Regions from separate parts of the Homo sapiens genome. Here region 2 is linked to region 1. The links are contacts of gene promoters, found by promoter capture Hi-C in human tissues and cell types (Jung and others, 2019). All regions are on one chromosome and are shown on one strand. Each heading gives the region's core, a stretch centred on a gene start or on the middle of the fragment in contact. The rest is flanking DNA. Distances are from core to core; before and after follow the strand shown.

Region 1 (3,537 bases), core at 1,038-3,537:
ACCAATGATCTGTCTGAACGGTAACAAATAAAATTTCATCTAAGTGTACCTCGTGGTAGAGTACATATTTGTCTTCCTTTCTGAAAGCCTGATACAGAAAATTTTATTTCAATTTTTGTAAATTCTCAGCTGAGTTTCTTTTTTAAAAAATTTAGATTTAGAAGTTTGCAGCATTGATTACAGCTTGAAACTGATGAAGATATTTGGGACACTGTATTTGGTCTCCATTGGGTCAATGCTTTTTCATTTATTCTTCCTGTTAAGAAATATAAGTAATCAGGAAGATGTGAAAAGAGAAATAATTGAAAAAGACTGGAGTACATATACTATCTACAGTGTCTGTTTTAAAGAAACAACATTCTAGCACACCTTTCTACCCTTGACTAAGATTACTGTAATGAGAGCACCAGTACCCCTGAGTAACCGAAAGGGCATTTTGGAAACTGAGCTTTTGGTGTTTATATGAACATTCTGTCTTCCAGGACCTGCCTTGATTTATTCAAGACTCATACTGCTGTATATGGTGTTGTATACATTAGGGGTAGTTGGGTAGCAGTAACTGATATAGAAAATTTTAAATGTAAAAAACACTGGGGAGTGAACCTTTCCATTATATATATATATATATATATATATATATATATATATATAAATATATAAATATATATATAAATTCACATCAGGATGAGTTTCTGTTTAGGCAATGTTGGAAAACGCTATTTCCATTTTTTTTTTAAACAAATATTTAACAAACATTTATAAGGCACTTAAATCCATGCTGGCTCTTACAAATGTTGACTCATTTCTCATAACCACCTTGGGGTAGAAACGGAGAGGCTAAACAATCTGCAGGCGATGCTTCACTACTAAATGCAGGTGGCAGCCTTGCCTGTGTTCTCTGCTTGGCTAGGAACACAGGTCTTACCTATTGAGCTGGGCTGTGTAGAACTCTGTTGTGGAGACATCTGCCCCTGGGGCAGAAGCCTCTGCTTTTTCCCCCTCCTCCCATCTTACTCCATGTCTCAGAGAGCTCTGAATCCCACTTGGAGAATCACACTTAAACCCTCTAAAAACCTAATGATGAATAAAAATAAGTTCTCTAGAACTTCTGGAGAAAAAAGTAATAAAGCTACCAGGTTAAATGACTGAAATTCCTGAGAGAAAACAACATGTGTGTGTTTCTCTAGAAAGGGGGCCCAATACTGAATACCAGGAAGTCCTATAGTAAATGGAATGTGACTCTATGTGGGATCCGGCGTTCCTATTTCATCCGAATGCATGTCTGCTGCTTCAGTGGGAAGGGTGCTTGCACACCAGGTACCCACTCCCTGGTGTCATGTGCTATGCAGTCCAAAGACAGAACCAGGAATGGTGAGCCCATGAGCCTGCTGGACCCAGCCCCTCCGAGGTCCGGAGTGACAACCAGTGCCGTATTTCTAGATCAAACCTGAACCCCTCCTACAGGGAAAAGATTTCCAGGGGATTTTGAAAGTTCCAACATTTTACAGGGAAGAAGGAAGATAAGCAGGATATGAAAGAAGAGTTCATGTTATACAGCCCTGGCTTCCACTGACGCTAACACTGGATTCAGCTTTTGACACTGATAATCTGTTGCCACCAAATGGAAAACGTAAACAAGATATTCTAAGTGTGGTTAGAGAATATGCAACACAAGGAACAAGCAGAACATTCTTCTCTGGAATCTGACATAATGGACTGTACTTTCACAGACAGCACTGATGTTAGATGTACGTGAAATAGGCTAAACTGAAAATAAGAAAGGCTGAGGCAGAGAGGATAATATAGCTCCAGCCTATCTCCCAGCACCTTGTTAATTTCTCTCAATCTCCAGCCACAAATCCGAGACACAACGCTCTTCCTCCAAAGAGGTCGCGCCTTCTCTGTGGTGGTTCTCAGGGATCCGCCCCAGCTCCTTCTCCGTTCCCAGCCCCACACACTGGGATCACCAGGCACCCAAGATCCCACCTCTCAGGTGGTATCTTCAGCGCAGGCTGCCACTCAGCCCCCCTCCAGGGATCTGGGGCAGAAGGCGAATATCCCAGAGTCTCAGAGTCCACAGGAGTTACTCTGAAGGGCGAGGCGCGGGCTGCATCAGTGGACCCCCACACCCCACCCGCACCCCAAGCGCTCCACCCTGGGGGCGGGGCCGTCGCCTTCCTTCCGGACTCGGGATCGATCTGGAACTCCGGGAATTTCCCTGGCCCGGGGGCTCCGGGCTTTCCAGCCCCAACCATGCATAAAAGGGGTTCGCGGATCTCGGAGAGCCACAGAGCCCGGGCCGCAGGCACCTCCTCGCCAGCTCTTCCGCTCCTCTCACAGCCGCCAGACCCGCCTGCTGAGCCCCATGGCCCGCGCTGCTCTCTCCGCCGCCCCCAGCAATCCCCGGCTCCTGCGAGTGGCACTGCTGCTCCTGCTCCTGGTAGCCGCTGGCCGGCGCGCAGCAGGTGGGTACCGGCGCCCTGGGGTCCCCGGGCCGGACGCGGCTGGGGTAGGCACCCAGCGCCGACAGCCTCGCTCAGTCAGTGAGTCTCTTCTTCCCTAGGAGCGTCCGTGGCCACTGAACTGCGCTGCCAGTGCTTGCAGACCCTGCAGGGAATTCACCCCAAGAACATCCAAAGTGTGAACGTGAAGTCCCCCGGACCCCACTGCGCCCAAACCGAAGTCATGTAAGTCCCGCCCCGCGCTGCCTCTGCCACCGCCGGGGTCCCAGACCCTCCTGCTGCCCCAACCCTGTCCCCAGCCCGACCTCCTGCCTCACGAGATTCCCTTCCCTCTGCAGAGCCACACTCAAGAATGGGCGGAAAGCTTGCCTCAATCCTGCATCCCCCATAGTTAAGAAAATCATCGAAAAGATGCTGAACAGGTGAGTTATGGTTTCCATGTACACAGGCGACTGGAGCCGTTGGTCAGAAATACTGGCATGTGCCCCCTAAAAATAAAATCAGGAAAACCCAGGGGTTAGTTGAAGGACTAGAAATTGGGATTATTGTTTTCACAATTAAGGTTTCCTTTACGATAATTACTGCTCTGGTGCCAGAGGATATTCCCAATGCCTGGCGTCCCCACCCTGGTTCTTCCTTCGTTCCAATGAATGTAGGTAAAACTGCCTTCATTTGAGGCCCAGTAGGACAAACAGCAACAGGTTCTGGCTGTTTTTAATCCAATAGTACAGTGGAGACCACCGCCCCACCCCACCCCCATTCCTAAAAGAGCATCCCAAGCTTAGAGGTCCCTGCCACACAGCACAGCTGTCATAGGCAGTAGCCACTTGGTTGCCAGGCTGGGGAAACTGCATTCGGAAAACTCTAGAGGCTGGAGGAGCAGGGCAGGAGAAGAGTGTTGTGCAATCAGCTTTCCCGAGCACCTACTCAGGGCACCCATTTTCTCATTGCAGTGACAAATCCAACTGACCAGAAGGGAGGAGGAAGCTCACTGGTGGCTGTTCCTGAAGGAGGCCCTGCCCTTATAGGAACAGAAGAGGAAAGAGAGACACAGCTGCAGAGGCCACCTGGATTG
Region 2 (3,537 bases), core at 499-2,998, 430 kb after region 1:
CAGTGTTTGGTTTTCTGTTCTTGTGTTAGTTTGCTGAGAATGATGGTTTACATCTATAATACAGATGACCAGATATATACAGATTTAATTTAATGTAAAGGAAAATAAAACTTAGCCACCCTACAAATACAAATTGCAAAGTAAATACATTTCTACCACATTAGGACAATAATCCTCTCTATTTCATTACTGACCACAGGATGCCACGATAATGAACATCTCAATATATTTAGAAAACTTGTGGAAACCTCAAGATTCAGCAACCAGATGAATGTAAGAAGAAATATAGTAAATTCCCTCCGGAGCACTTGATTCCTGGTTGCCTTCCAAGTTCAATGGCAAGCTACTAACTTGTTAAGGAGCCCTCTGCTCCCTGGTTCACCATGCTCTTAAGTGTCATTTTTCTATCAACCATATGAGAAAGTGGAGTGTTTTCTGTATTATCTCCTGAGTCATACTATTTCTACAGTCCTATGTCATTCAGGTTTTTCTGGTTGTTATTCCTGTACTTCATTTTCCTGAAGCTTGTCTCCCCTTCATTAGAGTGGATGTTTGAGAGGCCACGCTTAAGTGGCTTGCATTTAGAAGCATGGGAAAATACTTCAAGCATTTAATTTAGACAATTACATATGTATACCAGGAGGATGAAATTCACATGAGAGAAGCAAGAAATTTTTGTTCTGCTGCCTTGCCACAGATAAGGAATCATCCTTCTTCTTTTTGGGGGAGGGAGTTGACTTTAAAAAATAATTATAGCATTGTGGAGAACTGACATGGGCCATAGAGTACTTCTTTAAAAGAGACAGTGAAACAGACAAAATAGAAAGACAACACAATACTATAGGAACGTGAGACATCAGTTCTTCTTTCTCCACTCCAAAAATAAATTTATAGAGAACAAATATATTCTTTAACTTTGCCAGAATATACAATTTCCAAAATATACTAGCAAAATTAATTCTGCTTAGATACATCTGGAAATGCCATTATTTGGGACCTTTGGAGTATATATAATGTACTGAAGTAGAAATTTACTATTTGCCAAGGAATTAGAGAGTATTCCAACAAAGTATCTTAAATAAGAATCTGAATTGTTCAATTCTTGGCCCTGGGAACCTGGGAACATAAAGTTTCCAAATGAAGCAATGACAGAACACACCAGCTGGAGACACCCTGTCATGAAGGATGGATTGATGGTGCCAGAAGATTCATGACCACGTACTTTCTGTTTTATTCTTACTTAAGTTTTTAAAGGGCATTTTAGTGTCCTTTATGTTGCTATTGGTATCCTTCATGAGTACAATTTATGCACCCTGTCATCTATGCCACCCTTGGATTTTTTTGGAGGCGTCCATATAAACTGGATGATTAGTTTCTTCCATCATCTCTATCATCACCTCAAATTTTAAATATGAAAGAACCTCTGCACTGTACCTATTGTTCTTATACTGACATTGAAAGATGGTTGTCTTCAAGTTAGAATCAAGTAAATGATGCCAAGCCAAGTTTTAGTTCTTCCTTTTAGAAATCTGAAGCCAATAACATAGGGGGGAAAGTCATCAGCCACATAGGGGAGAAGAGAGAACACGGAAGATTAGACATGCATGGCAGGCTGAAAAAGAATTTCTTGAGTAATGATTTACTGGGATGCAATAGCCTGAAACTTCATGAAAATGCAAGATGAATTTCTCCTTCACTACTTTCTTCTAAAATTATTTAGTAGTATACATTTTTCTCACAAGTTTTTCATATTACAAAAATGATCACTCCTAAATATGTAAATAGCCAAGTTTATTCATGAAAGACTCTTTTAAAAGCTTATTCACCCTGAACACAGTAACTACAGCTACCATCACCCAACCTCAGTTTCTTGACCCCATATAGCCCATGATCACCTCCCCGGCCTCCTCTCTTTCTTCTCGCTGTTTTCATCATGTGCTTTGGTCATAATGAAGTCATTTCACCTCCTCCATTATATTAAATTTATTGTCAGATCCAACCCACCTTTGCTTTTACTCTTCCCTGTGTCTGCATTGCTTTCTCTTTCCCTTTCTTCCCTGCTCAGGTGTCCATCAATCTTGCAGCTTTTCTGCAGCTTTACAAATCTTTCTCTGATCCCCATATCGGATTTATGTTTTCTCTTGAGGTACTCCCATAAGTGCCTGAATTCATTCCCACCTTAGTGAATCTCAATTTACTTTGTAATTTTTGTGTTTATTTCCTTTCCTTTCACCCCAGATATTAAACTCACTTCATTAGAGAAATGTGCAAACACAGAACAGTTTCTTCATTTGATTTTATGCTGCCTGAAATGTTTTCCCAAATGTTAAAAATACTTTAATCATTTCTTTTAAATTAATATACAAAATACTTGATATTTTCTATGAGCCTCTACATAACCAGACACTGCCTACCTCTTCCATGTCACCTCCTTCAACTCTGTCTTTACTCCTGCATCTCAGCCATACTGGCCTTCTTACAGTGTTTCCAAGAGTTCAGGCTGCTTTCTACCTGAGGGAAGCTTCTTGCCACCTTTATCACATTGTCTCCCCTACACTGTCTATTCTACACCTCTCTATTCCACATGGAAAAACTCGGCATGGATATGCCACATTAATACACAGTGCTGTTCAGGCCCAGATCCTCTTGACACCTTCACAGTGCAGCACAAATTTCATGTGTAGCACATATCACTGCCGTGGCTCAATTATTATTTAGGCAATTGCCTTTTTAATGTCCATCTTCCCAACTAGACTAAAAGCTCCATGAGGCAGTATCTATGTCTGTCTTGCTCAAGGAATAATTGTTACGAATCTATCTGGTCCAGTTTATGGCATGTGTGGGAACAGTGACTAATTGAATATAGGGCTAGAACATGATGCAAAATAAAGATGTTGGGCCAGAAGATAAAAGACCTTGATTGCCATAACAAAGAATTTATATTTTATCCTAGAGACAATGAAGATCCATCAAATGTTTATAAGCTGAGATAATCAAATCTGTGTTTTAAAGAATAACTCTGGCAGCAAATTATATGGCTGACATGGTGGACTGGGAGCCAAGAGGCTACTGTAGTAGATTATAAAAAATGGCCACACATTTATTTTGTCCCCATGTGTACATCCCCTTTGCAGGGTGACTTGGCCACTCTTGTTACTCCAAGTCTTTGAATTTCAACTTGATCGTGTGCCTTCCTTTGGTCAATGGCACATTAGCAACTCTTATGTAAGCAGAAGTGTGAAAACCGTTTGCACATTGGGGTTTGCCTGGTACTTGCCTGGGAACCTGAGGCCATCGTGTAAAGTAGCCATACTACAGCAGTGAATTCCAACCAGATTTTAAATTTTCTCCATTCCGTTTATATGTATAACATTCCTTTCCCACCGTTAGAAATATCTCTCACTTCAAACATTAGTTCTCAGTGGTGCGTATTGACAATGTGCAATATTGGGATAGGAGGAGGCATATGCAGTATGACTTAATCTCACAAGAGATTCCACTATGCTCTATGAATGCAAATTGAAAGTCACTCTACTA

Evidence for each region. Contacts are between HindIII fragments. The study calls those that stand out against the background at their distance.
Region 2: a fragment that was not itself captured here is called in contact with the fragment with the promoter of CXCL1 in region 1 in 1 of the 25 tissues and cell types used here (mesendoderm cells).

What each region holds. Positions count from the first base shown.
Region 1 is chr4:73,867,106-73,870,642 of GRCh38, forward strand. It overlaps CXCL1 (C-X-C motif chemokine ligand 1), which reads left to right and starts at 2,288. Exons shown (of 4, transcript NM_001511.4): 1 at 2,288-2,465; 2 at 2,564-2,687; 3 at 2,801-2,884; 4 at 3,416-3,537. The coding sequence starts at 2,366. The coding sequence ends at 3,431. The HindIII fragment of the contact is 6,457 bases long and covers 1-3,034 here.
Region 2 is chr4:74,293,290-74,296,826 of GRCh38, forward strand. All of the region lies in intron 7 of MTHFD2L (methylenetetrahydrofolate dehydrogenase (NADP+ dependent) 2 like), which reads left to right. The region is part of intron 2 of LOC105377276 (a long non-coding RNA gene); the gene reads right to left. Among named protein-coding and RNA genes, the nearest start is that of EPGN, 13 kb to the right of the region's middle. The HindIII fragment of the contact is 3,752 bases long and covers 1-3,537 here.